Linked DNA regions of Homo sapiens: region 2 is linked to region 1. Evidence: promoter capture Hi-C in 16 types of primary human blood cells and fetal thymus (Javierre and others, 2016). All regions are on one chromosome and are shown on one strand. The core of a region is centred on a gene start or on the middle of the fragment in contact, and the rest is flanking DNA. Distances in the headings are between cores, read along the strand shown. Region 1 holds the start of IL21R (interleukin 21 receptor). Region 2 has its middle 45 kb from the start of LINC02129.

Region 1 (6,646 bases), core at 1-2,500:
CCTCCTGGCTTTGAATGTCCCGCACCTGGTCTTCTGCCTTCACTGAGCAGAGACGTCATTCCTGCGGCAAGTCCTAAGTTCCCGCTCCCCAGGGCTCCTCCACCAGGAATGTTCTTCCTTTCCCATCCTTCAAGGCTCAGCCTCCACTGACCTCCCCACCCTCCTCTCCTCCACATGCACAGGGAACTGGGTTGGCCTCTTACCATCCGACCCGTTCCCCGTGCTTCATGAGAAAGATGCAGCGACAGCTCATGGGGTCACCTGGCTTGACTGCCCGACCTGCTACGTCCCAGTTGAGTCACCGAGGGAAAATCACTCTACCTCTCGCAGCCTCATTGCCTCATCTGCGAAATGGGCACACCAGCCATTGTTTTGAATGACTGGGTGGAATCAAGGTGGTAAGACATAGAAACTGACACAGAATGGGTCCCATCAGGCTCTACACCCATGCCCGTCACCTCCCGACTCAGCCGCCCAGAATCGGGTGATTGACATGTTATGTTTGGCTTGAAACTGGCTTTCCTTCCCCAGCCCGCTACATTTTGGAGGCTGGTTTTCAAGATAGAGGGTCGTCTCAGCCACATCCCTGCTGCTGGGCCCCTAAGCTGTGCTGAACAAGAGACCCCAACCTCATTTCTGCCCAGCCTCACTGCATGAATCTTCTTTGCCTCAGTGTCCCCAATTGTGACTTGGGCACAGTCCTCCGAGCCCTCCCACTGTGACACTAGATGCAGCAGGCAGGGAACAGTCCCTCCTGGGCAGAGAAGGCACCCTGGTCCCAGCAGAAAACCAGGGCTGGAATTACCTTCTGTTTCGGCTTCTTTCTCAGAAATCCATTCCGTGTGCTGGGGGCAGTCTGATGGGCTTCTGGGGGTGGCAGCTGGGTTCAGCGTGGGGGTGACAGATGAGGGTCTGAGAAAGCAGGCAGAGGCCTGGGGTGAGAATCCACACCCAGCCCGAGTCACCAATCAGGCTGTCATAAGACCTGTCACTCTGATGACGGGCAGCTGGGCCTCCAGGCAGGTGTCCCACAGAGCAGCAGACAGAGGAAAGAGACGGCAAGGAAGGTACCAGGCGGCCGCAGCAGGGATGCACGGGCCGCAGACAGACAGACACAGCTGCGTGGCTGTCAGCCACACTCAGGGAGAGGCAGGCAGAGGGCCAGACGCCGAGCTTACGGTCACTCAGCAGAGAGACGCCAGTGGGTCTGTCTGAGGCCGCTGGCTGCCACCCAGCCGCATGTGCAGAGTGGGGAGGAAGAGGAGGATGTGGTGAGCCGCTCCCCGCCAGCCCCGCCCACCCGCAGCTGGGCTCCTCCTGGGAGGGAGTGAGAAAGAGGTGGGAGGGGGCCTGGCCCCACAGCAGGCACCCACTGTCACCAAAGGTCACCTGCAAGTAAGACATTTGGGGCCATCGGGGTGACACTTCCCTCTTAGGGACCTGTGACATCATCCCCACAGGCCTCTCAGTCATAACCCATGAGGCAGGCAGTGCCTCCTGGAGCCACCACATTGCACAGATATGGAAACTGAGGCCAGAGGTGTGAAGATGTGGCACAGTTTCACCCGTGGACCCAGAGTCCTCAGTGGCCGACTCCAGCCCCTCAGCACAGAGAGAAGGACCAGAACCTTGCCCAAGGTCCCACGGAAGCCCCTTTTTCAGACTTTGCAAACCAGCCTGTTTCTTATTCCTGAGCCTTACCTGCCTAATAGGGTCTGAGCTTGGGACCCTCTGCTCTGGCTTGACCCCCATGCCTCTCTGCCTCCATTTCCTTTGGATCCAGTCTCCTGCTGCAGAGCTCCAGGGAGCAGGACCCCTTGGGCACGTCACATCACCTCTCTGAATGCCTCACTTTGCCCATCTGTCAAATGGGGGCACCTAGCTATGAGGAAGAGGGCAGACATTAACACATGAGAATTCAAGAAGAAAATAGAGAAAAGAAATTCTCAAGAGAGTTTTCATCTTGCTAACATGCCAGAGGCCCATGAGAGGGTCAGATGTTTCTGGAAGACATTCAAGAAACCAGGAGACAAAATGTAACAAGCTTAATGCCTAGTGCAGTCTCCAAAGGAGAGCAAGAGAATTGCTACCACCACCACCGCTACCACCACCACCACTACCACTGCCATCACCACCACCTCGAATTACTTTGGTGCCTACATGATCTCACTTTATCCCACAAAGTGTGAGGCAGACAAGATTAGTCCCATTTTACAGATGGAGAGACTGAGGCCCAGAGGAGTGAAACGTCACACAAGCCAAGAAGAATTAGAGCTGGGATTTGAACCTGGGTGTGTTTGATTCCTAAGCTTATACCAGGCTGTGAAAACGGGGCCATACCAGGATGAAATGTCCCACAGTTGGGGGAGGCTATTTTATGCTGTTTTGATAACAAGATGCAATTTGTAGCTCTCCCTGCTGACTCATTTTTGGGAATCAACTTGCTGTTGACTTTCGTGACCACTCCAGAGAAAAAAGAGAAAGCGTCTTGCTATTCTTTCTTTCTTTTTTTTTCTAGCTGTTTTTGAGGAACTTGGTACAAATTCCCCTGTGGTTGATTTGAGGGATCCTGGCCCTGTAGAGCTCTTCCCAGCTACCGAAGTGTGTCGTGTTCTCTGGAGAACGAACCTTGGGAAGACACCAGCTTTTGTTTTTCTTTCTCTTGATCTTCGGGGTGAATTCTCTGATAACATGCACTGAAATTTGTAGTGGTTGAAAGATCAGGAGAAGAGACAGTAAAAAGAGCTAATATTTGCTGAAAGCTCATTGTGTGCCAGGGTTTTAAGGACTTTAAAGATGCACCCTCTCATTTAAACCTCAGAAATACTCGAGAAGGCTGTGTGCAGCGGTGCACACCTATAATTCCATCATTTTGGGAGGCTGAGGTGGGAGGATCGATTGAGGCTAGGAGTTCAAGACCAGTCTGGGCAACATAGCAAGACCCTGTCTCTATAAAAAAATTTAAAAATTAGACAGTCATGGTGGTGCACGCCTGTAGTCCCAGCTACTCTGGAGGCTGAGGTGGGAGGACCACTTGAGCCAAGGAGCTGAAGGCTGCAGTGAGCTATGACTGTAGTGCTGCACTCAAGCCTGGGCAACAGAGCAAGACTCTGTCTTCAAAAATAAAATCCCCAAAATGAAAAAGAATGAGTCTAGAAGATAGTTATCATCATCATCATCATCGTCCCTGTTTTACAGATGAGGAAACTGAGGCTCAGAGAGGTTAAGTGACTTGTCCAAGGTCACACAGCTGATGAGTGCCAGAGTTGGGATTTGAACTCAGTCATTTGGGCTCCAGAGCCCGCACTCTTAACTCACTACACTGCTCTGGGGTGTGTATGAAAACAAGGATATTCAATTTCTCCTCCCTCCCTCCTGCCTGCCTTCTTTATCTACCTGCTTTCTACCCACCCACCTACCTATCCACCCATTCATTCTTCTCTGCACCCACCCACCCAGCCATTCCTTGCTTCCTCCCCCTAATATTTATTGAGCAGGCTCAGAGAGGTTAAGTGACTTGTCCAAAATCACGCAGCTTGGCTACATCCTGGGGCTAGCCCACAGAAATATACACACAGTGACAGCCCCCATGGAGCCTATATTCTAGTAGGGAGAGTTAGACAAAAAGAAGTAACAGACAAACTCAATGTAAACTGTACTAAATGTCATAGAAAACCAATGAGAGATCAAGGTTGTGACATTTGGGGGTACACTAGGTGCTAAGAAGTGCCCAGCCATGGGAAGAACATTATCGGCAGAAGGATCTGCAAGTGCAAAGGCACTGAGGTAGGAAAGAATGTGGCTGGCTCCAGGAACTTGAGAACAGCATGGCGTAATACAGTGAGCAAATGGAGGAATAGTAGAAGGTGAAGGCACGGAAATCACACATCTACACCACATGGGACCTCACGGTTTTGGGTGAGGAAGGTAGATTGTTCCAAAGGAAATGGGAAGTCATCATTGGAGGGTTTCATCTTAAGAGTGGCTTAATCCAGTTTACATTTTCAGTTCAGGCCAGGAGTTGGGGAATGGGTGGGATCAGCAGGGGTCACAGTCCCTTGGTGCTTAAAAAGTAGATGCATTTGGAGCTGCCAGGCCCATGTCCACTGGGGTAAACATGAGTCCCCTCAGAAATAGACATGTGGTCCCTTGAGGGGTTCCTCTGGGTCTGTAAATGTCTCATAAGTATGGCCTCTATACCCTTGGAAGGAAGGTGCCATAGGATCTCAGCGGCCCTCCAACCATGCCTCAGTGCTGATAGCTGGTCAGCGGGGAGGAAGTGGTCACATTTGCATTTCAGCCAAGGGGCCTCCTGGGAAAAAATAATTGACACACCCCCTCCCTCAACCCATTTCCTCTTTTTTATTTTTATTTTAAGAGCTTTATTTAGCTATGTTTTACATAACATAAAATCAAGCCACTGTAAATGTACAGTTCAATGATTTTTAGTGAATTTATCGAATTGTGCAATTATAACCACGATCCAATTTTAAAACAATCCCATCACTCCTGAAAGGTTCCTTGTGCCTGCTTATAGTCAATCTCCATTCCCATTCCCAGGGCCACTCGTCTACTTTATGCCTCTACTGATTTTGCTTTTTTTTTTTCCTAGGCATCTCATATCAATATGTTGTCTTTTGTGTTTAGTTTCTTTCAGCATCGCGTGTTTGGGGTTCAACCACGTTGTAGCGTGTGTTGGCACCACATATCTAAAAATCCATTTTTAGGCCAGGCGCGGTGGCTCATGCCTGTAATCTCAACACTTTGGGAGGCCAAGGTGGGCGGATCACTTGAGATCAGGAGTTCGAGACCAGCTTGGACAACATGGTAAAACCCCGCCTCTACTAAAAAATACAATAATTAGCCTGGTGTGGTTGCACACGCCGGGAGATTGAGACCAGCCTGGCCAACATGGTGAAACCCTGTTCTACTAAAAATACAAAAATTAGTTAGGTATGGTGACGTGCACCTGTAGCCCTAGCTACTCAGGAGGCTGAGGCAGGAGAATTGCTTGAACACGGGAAGTGGAGGTTGCAGTGAGCAGAGCTAGTGCCACTGCCCTCCAGCCTGGGAGACAGAGCGAAACTCCATCTCAAAAAAATAAAAAATAAAAATTGATTTTTATTGCTGAAGAATATTACATTGCATAGATATGCCACATTCATTTATCCTTTCATGAGATGATGGACATTTGGAGTATGTCCACTTTTTCCTTTACTACAAACAAGCATGCTATGAACACTTGCATGCGAGTCTTTGTGTAGACATGCATTTTCAAATCTTTTGGATATATACCCAGAAGGAGACTTGTTGAGTTAAAGGTAGTTTAACTTATTAACTTTTAAATAAGTTTAACTTATTAAGAAACTGACAAACTGTTTTTCACAGCAGCTGCCCTGTATTATATTCCCACCAGCAATGTCTGAAGGTTCCCATTTCTCTACGTCCTTGACAATATGTATTTTCTTTTTTTTTTTTTTCTTTTTTTTTTTTTTTTTGAGATGGAGTCTCGGTCTGTCGCCCAGGCTGGAGTGCAGTGGCGCGATCTCGGCTCACTGCAAGCTCCGCCTCCCGGGTTCACGCCATTCTCCTGCCTCAGCTTCCCGAGTAGCTGGGACTACAGGTGCCTGCCACCACGCCTGGCTAATTTTTTGTATTTTCTTTTGTAGAGACGGGGTTTCACCGTGTTAGCCAGGATGGTCTCGATCTCCTGACCTCGTGATGCGCCCGCCTCGGCCTCCCAAAGTGCTGGGATTACAGGCGTGAGCCACCGCACCCAGCAGACAATATGTATTTTCTGTTGGTTTTTATTATAGCCATCCTAGCGGATGTGAAGTGGTATCTCATTGTGGTTTTGATTTGCATTTCCCTAATGGCTAATGATGGTAAGCATCTTTTCATGTGCTTGGTAGTCATTTGCATATCTTGTTTGGAGTAATGTCTATTGAAGTCCCTTGCCAAATTTTATTTATTTTATTTTTTTTTTAGACAGAGTCTTGATCTGTCTCCCACACTGGAGTGCAGTGGTGTGATCTTGGCTCACTGAAACCTCTACCTCCTGGGTTCAAGCGATTCTTGTGCCTCGGCCTCCCGAGTAGCTGGGCTTACAAACGTGTGCCACCATATCCAGCTAATTTTTGTGTTTTTAGTAGAGACGGGTTTTCACCATGTTGACCAGGCTGGTCTCGAACCCTTAACCTCAGGTGATCCGCCCACCTCAGTCTCCCAAAGTGCTGGGATTACAGGCATAAGCCACCGTGCCCAGCTCCTTGCCAATTTTTAAATTTGATTGTTCATCATTTGTTGTTGAATTTTAAGAGTTCTTTGTATATTCTGGAAACTCACCTTTATCAGATATATGAATTACAAATATTTTTCCCATTCTGTGGCTGTCTTTTCACTTTGTTGATAGTGTGCTTTAATGCAAAAAAAATGAAAAAAAATTGACTATAGATTCATGGGTTTATTTCTGAACTCTAAGTTCAATTCCATTGATCTATATGTCTAGCCTTGTGCCAGGATTATCACACTGTTTTGATTACTGTAGCTCTGCAGTAAGTTTTGTTTTGTTTTGTTTTTGTTTTTGTGTTGTTTTGAGACAGAGTTTCGCTCTTGTTGCCCAGGCTGGAATGCAATGGCACAATCT
Region 2 (6,211 bases), core at 3,407-5,906, 270 kb after region 1:
GTCAACCTCCACTGCCCATCTGATCTACGAATGTGGTGGCATTGACAAAAGAACCATTGTAAAATTTGAGAAAGAGGCTGCTGAGATGGGAAAGGGCTCCTTCAAGTATGCCTGGGACTTAGATAGACTGAAAGCTGAGCATGAATGTGGTATCACCATTGATATCTCCCTGTGGAATTTTGAGACCAGCCAGTGCTACGTGACTATCATTGATGCCCCTGGACACAGAGACTTCATCAAAAACATGATTACAGGGACATCTCAGGCTGACTGTGCTGTCCTGATTGTTGCTGCTGGTGTTGGTGAATTTGAAGCTGGTATTTCCAAGTATGGGCAGACCTGTGAGCATGCCCGCTGGCTTACACACTAGGTGTGAAACAACTAATTGTTGGTGTTCACAAAATGGATTCCACCGAGCCACCCTATGGCCAGAAGAGATACAAGGAAATCGTTAAGGAAGTCAGCACTTACATTAAGAAAATTTGGCAGGACACAGTGGCTCATGCCTGTAATCCCAGTACTTTGGGAGGCTGAAGCGGGTGGATCACCTGAGGTCAGGAGTTCGAGACCCATCTGGCCAACATGGTGAAACCCAGTCTCTACTAATAATACAAAAATTAGCTGGGCGTGGTGGCATACACCTGTAATCCCAGGTACTCAGGAAGCTGAGGCGGGAGAATTGCTTCAACCCAGGAGGTGGAGGTTGCAGTGAGTCAAGATTGCACCATTGCACTCTAGCCTGGGCCACAAGAGTGAAACTCCATCTCAAAAAAAAAAAAAAAAAAAAATTGGCTACAACTCTGACACAGCAGCATTTGTGCCAATTTCTGGTTGGAATGGTGACAACATGCTGGAGTCAAGTGCTAATATGCCTTGGTTCAAGGGATGGAAAGCAACCTGTAAGGATGGCAATGCCAGTGGAACCACACTGCTTGAGGTTCTTGACTGCATCCTACCACCAACTTGTCTAATTGACAAGCCCTTGCGCCTGCCTTTCCAGGATGTCTACAAAATTGGTGGTATTGGTACTGTTCCTGTTGGCCGAATGGACACTGGTGTTCTCAAACCCAGCATGGAGGTCACCTTTGCTCTTGTCAGTGTTACAACTGAAGTAAATTGTGTTGAAAAGCACCATGAAGCTTTGAGTGAAGCTCTTCCTGGGCACAATGTGGGCTTCAATGTCAAGAACATGTCCGTCAAGGAGATTCGTCATAGCAACGATGCTGGTGACAGCAAAAAGAAAACCCACAAATGGAAGCAGCTGGCTTCCCCGCTTAGGTGATTATCCTGAACCACCCAGGCCAAATAAGTGTGGACTATGCCCCTGTACTGGACTGCCACACGGCTCATATTGCCTGCAAGTTTGCTAAGCTGAAGGAAAAGATTGATCTCCATTCTGGTAAAAATCTGGAAGACGGCCCTAAATTCTTGAAATCTGGTGATGCTGCCATCGTTGATATGGTTCCTAGAAAGCTCATGTGTATTGAGAGCTTCTCAGACTATTCACCTCTGGGTCGCTTTGCTATTCGTGATATGAGACAGACAGTTGCTGTGGGTGTCATCAAATCAGTGGACAAGAAGGCTGCTGAAGCTGGCAAGGTCACCAAGTCTGCCCAGAAAGCTCAGAAGGCTAAATGAATATTATCCCTAATACCTGCTACCCTGGTCTTAATTGGTGGAAGAACAGTCTCAGAACTGTTTGTTTCAATTGCCCATTTAAGTTTAATGGTAAAAGACTGGTTAATGATAACAATGCATCATAAAACCTTCAGAAGGAAAGGAGAATGTTTTGTGGACCACTTTGATTTTTTGTTTTGTTTTGTTTTTTCGTGTGGCAGTTTTAAATTATTAGTTTTTAAAATCAGTACTTTTCAATGGAAGCAACTTGACCAAAAATCTGTCACAGAATTTTGAGACCCATTAAAACAAAATTTAATGAGAAAAAACACACATTATTACTAGACCCCAAAATGATCACAAATCAAATCATTGCATGGATTCCATTCTGGTTGTCAGGGAGATGATCCAGAATGTGCTAGTATTTGTGAACACACTAAAATTTTAATAAGTTATTGCTGAGCACTTATAAATCCCTAAGTGTAATCTGCAAACTTTCAGGGAGACTTTAATGATAGTTTTAGACTCTTCAAGACAAGATCTGTCTTCTAGCATGCTCCAGCTTTGCCTTGTCTCTGGCCCTTTCCTGTTCCTTGCAGCAGCCTGAATTAGTTCATTTTCATACTGCTATGAAGAAATACCTGAGACTGGGTAATTTATAAAGAAAAAGTGGTTTAATGAACTCACATTTCCACATGGCTGGGGAAGCCTCACAATCGTGGTGGAAGGGGAAGGAGGAGCAAAGGCACATCTTACATGGCAGCAGGCATGAGGGTGTGTGCAGGAGAACTAGCTGCCCTTTATAAAACCATCAGATCTTGTGAGACTTATTCACTACCATGAGAACAGCATGGGAAAACCAGCCCTCATCATTCAATTTCCTCCCACTGGGTCCCTCCCACTACACATGGGATTATGGAAGCTACAACTCAATATGCGATTTGGGTTGGGACACAGCCAAACCATATCACAGACTTATAATCAAATGAACAATTGTAAAATTGTTCATTTACATGCTTGAGAGTCTGGACTTTATTTTTTTGATGTTTAGTACAGAGATGGATACCAATTAGGAACTGAGTATATTTAACAAATAACTTCAATTTTTCCTTTTATACCAAAGTTGTATATGTTTACACCCCTAATTCTATGGGAAAATTGGGCCAGTTTCACTCTTGGATGGAGCCAGCTGGTAAAGTTGGAGGTGAGGGAGTCTTTTTCAGGGACCCTGGAGTGTGCCCAGAATTTGTTTCCTGGGAAGAGTGGAGTGGTTCAGTGATGTTTCTGGAGAGTAGGAGTGAGGATGAGACTCCACCAGTCCCATTGGGCAGGGAGCTTCCTTCCTGGAAAAATGTCCTCTTTATGCTGAATCCCATCAGAGACTCCTGCTGTACAGTGATTCAGGGAAAGGTACCGCCTCTCTCTTTGTGCCTCCGTTTGACTAAAATGGGGGAAATGATACCACAGAGGCCTCATGGGACTGTGGAGAAGAGTAAATGAGCTGATATATGTAAACATGCCCAGCGTGGTGCCTGCCATCACAGATGTTCAAGAAACACAAGTTTTCTGTCTCCCTTTGCCCATTGTGTTTGAGAACACAAAGCCCTTAGTTAATGGAAGCACTAGTTGGGGAGCGGGAAATCTGAGTTCTAGTCCTGGTTCTACCATGGTGTGACTTTGGGCATATCATCTTCCCTTTCTGAACCTCCATTAAAAAAAATCGATAATGTGGGGATGAATGATAATGCTATCTACCTCACAGAATTTCAGATGGGATTACATTAAATACAGTGGTGTTTGAGTAAGAGACAATCATGGTCTCTGGCAAGTGACAACAACAATAAAAACTGAAAAAATGGCTGGATGTGGTGGCTTATGCCTGTAATACCAGCACTTTGGGAGGCCAAGGCAGATGGATCACTTGAGGTCAGGAGTTCGAGACTAGCCTAGCCTACACAGTGAAACCCCATCTCCAGTAATACAAAAAAAAAATAGCCAAGTGAGGTGGTGTGTACCTGTAGTCCTAGCTACTCAGGAGACTGAGGCAGAAAAGCCGCTTGAACCAAGGAGGTGGAGGTTGCAGTGAGCTGAGATCATACCACTGTACTCCAGCCTGGGTGACAGGGCAAGACCTTGTCTCAAAAAATTAAAAAAAAATTTAAAAGGGGAAAAAGTGCTGTTGACTGGAATTATAAAAGGCCAAATATTACTATATTCCTATATACCAGGAATGGTTCTTAGGAACCTAGATCCAGACTCTCATTTATTCCTTGTGTTGGCAGCAAGAACATCTCCACAAACTTGGGGCCTGAATGAGGCAGAGTGCTTTCATTTTCCCTACGAATTGCTTCCGCAACCACCTGCCTTATTAGTAGAATGTTCATCACTTTTCTTGTGGAGTTCTCTGTGCCCTCTTAAATGATCTGTGAACCATACAGGTGTTCTTAGTTCCAAGGGGAATGTCTGCCCATGGTTAACCTACAAGTGGCTAAGGACAGGGGTCTGATTAGTTCACTGCTGCAGTTGCCTCATGTTGCCAGAGGGGTTGCTGTTGAAGAAAGCTTTGCACAGTCTTGTGAATGCTTTGTTCTGTGATTATGTGAGACCCAGTTTCTGGATATCCATTGAGAGAGAATGATCCGACTCCTTCAGTGCTAAGTGTGGCCAAGAGCTACACACATTTGGCCCCAGAGTTACATCTCTACAATCAATTCTATCAGTTCGCATACACAGTCACTCCTTGGGGTATAAGCAGGAACCAGGAACACTGATTTGGGGTCAGGTCCAAAGTGTGACTACTCAAAAATGCTTACAGCAACTATACTTCCTGCCTCTCCTGTGACTTAATTGTTAGACAATTAGACAGCAATTATTTGACTCATTCAAACCCAAAAACTCTTGTTATATTCATCTTGAAGGAAGTCCTGGGCCACTTGAAGCAGGCTACCCTTGGTGGCTACAAAATGTCATCTGTTCCCAGTTGTGCTATGTTATAGTTTACAGAATCTTTTAATAAAATCGAGGGAAGAATCTGCAAGTTTGACATTCTATAGGACAGTCCTATTATCCTCCCAAGAATGGAGCAGAGGTCACTGTACTGTGCTCACAAGTCTAAAAATGTGGTCTGGAGATACTGTAGGAAGAGTAGAGGTGTTAGAAACAGACAGAAAGTGTTCAAATCTGTGGTGGAAATTAGTCGTGTTTACTCACCCAGTGTCTTATTGCTCCTTCAGCTCTCATGGGAACCTCAATTTTCTTTTCGTGAATTATCTCTTCCTCGCTCTCAGTCTCAGTTTGGGTGGGACTGGTCCTACCTTTGTTCTCAAGGGGTGGGAATCTGAACCAGGCCTGGCCAATGAAAGGACTGAAACTCCCTGGCTACAATTATTGGTTCACGGATCAGCACATGACCCAAGTTGGGCCAATGAAAGGCTGACTTGATATTTTTGCTAGAATGGTGGGAAAAGAAGCACTTCCTTTCTTTGGGGGAACACTAAGCTGATGGGATGTAAGCTTAAAGCTGCTAGGATTCTATGTTAGCCACCAGGTAGAGAATGCCTGATTGAAAATGAAGTCAACTTTGTGGAAAGAAGAGCCAAGTGATAGAGACTGAGAGATTCTACATGATGTTGAGCCCCTGGATCCAACTGTGCCTGAAACTAGAACTACAGATGGTCTGTCATGAACCAGAACATACCCATTTCCTAGTTAAGTCAGTTTGATTGTGTGGGGTTTTGGTCATTTGCCATAACACAGTATGCAATTAATCCCCTGAGGATCAGTATAAGTGGGTGCTCAGCAGAGCAAGATGTTAAACAAAAGACAGACAGACAGACAGGCAAACAGGCAGACAGATGTTCTCTGATGATTAGGCACTTCTTTCCACCTCTTTTCAGAGCAGAGCCACCCCACCCCTCCTCACTGGATGCTTTGCTTGTGTCTGGCACAGCCAGGGCAGGGTGCCAGTACCAGGCAGGCTGCAAATATTACAAAACGTCTGGGGAAAACGGCATTGTTTCCATTTATGTTTTTGCTTCCCCTCTTGTCTCCTGCATTTTTGCTTTTATTTAAGGCTGTGTTCAATGTTGTAATTACTTTTTTAATCGGTAATGTCTGTGTCTGGGGTGTGTGGTTACCCACCATTGCTGGGCCTGACACTGTAAACAAATGCTGGCACTTTGGCTGGGAAGTTCCTGCTGAAATATTGCCCTAAATAAATAAAAGGCAAATTAGATATTGGAAAATAACTTTAAATTACATTTGAATTCTTGGGGAATTACATCTTACATTTGTGTTAGGGACAAATGAGTTTGCCATAAATAATACGTCTAGAACAATTGACCAAGGAGGACAGCGGTGTTGGACAGTTTCTGGGAGGAGGGACGGGAATAGATCTTTCAAAGGGAAGTTGGGGGTGAAACAGAGGGGACTTCTTAAGGGATGGTCATGGGAATGGGGTGCAGAGAAGTGTAAATCTTAAGAAACCTTGGGTATATCTGCTGGATATGCCAAAGAGATTGGTACTCTTGAAAGGAAAGCCATTAGGTTGATTAACTGGGTTGTTCCCAGCAGATGGAAGGAGGAGCTGATGTTA

Evidence for each region. The method cuts DNA at HindIII sites, captures the fragments that hold promoters and counts their contacts. A CHiCAGO score of 5 or more calls a contact.
Region 2: a fragment that was not itself captured here is called in contact with the fragment with the promoter of IL21R in region 1 in 6 of 17 cell types (neutrophils, activated CD4 T cells, naive CD8 T cells and 3 more); the score reaches 10.3 in neutrophils.

What each region holds. Positions count from the first base shown.
Region 1 is chr16:27,396,778-27,403,423 of GRCh38, reverse strand. It overlaps IL21R (interleukin 21 receptor), which reads right to left and starts at 1,250. Exons shown (of 9, transcript NM_181078.3): 1 at 806-1,250. RefSeq lists enhancers at 619-738, 631-1,173. The HindIII fragment of the contact is 2,346 bases long and covers 1-2,046 here.
Region 2 is chr16:27,128,910-27,135,120 of GRCh38, reverse strand. It overlaps the pseudogene EEF1A1P38. Among named protein-coding and RNA genes, the nearest start is that of LINC02129, 45 kb to the left of the region's middle. The HindIII fragment of the contact is 952 bases long and covers 4,181-5,132 here.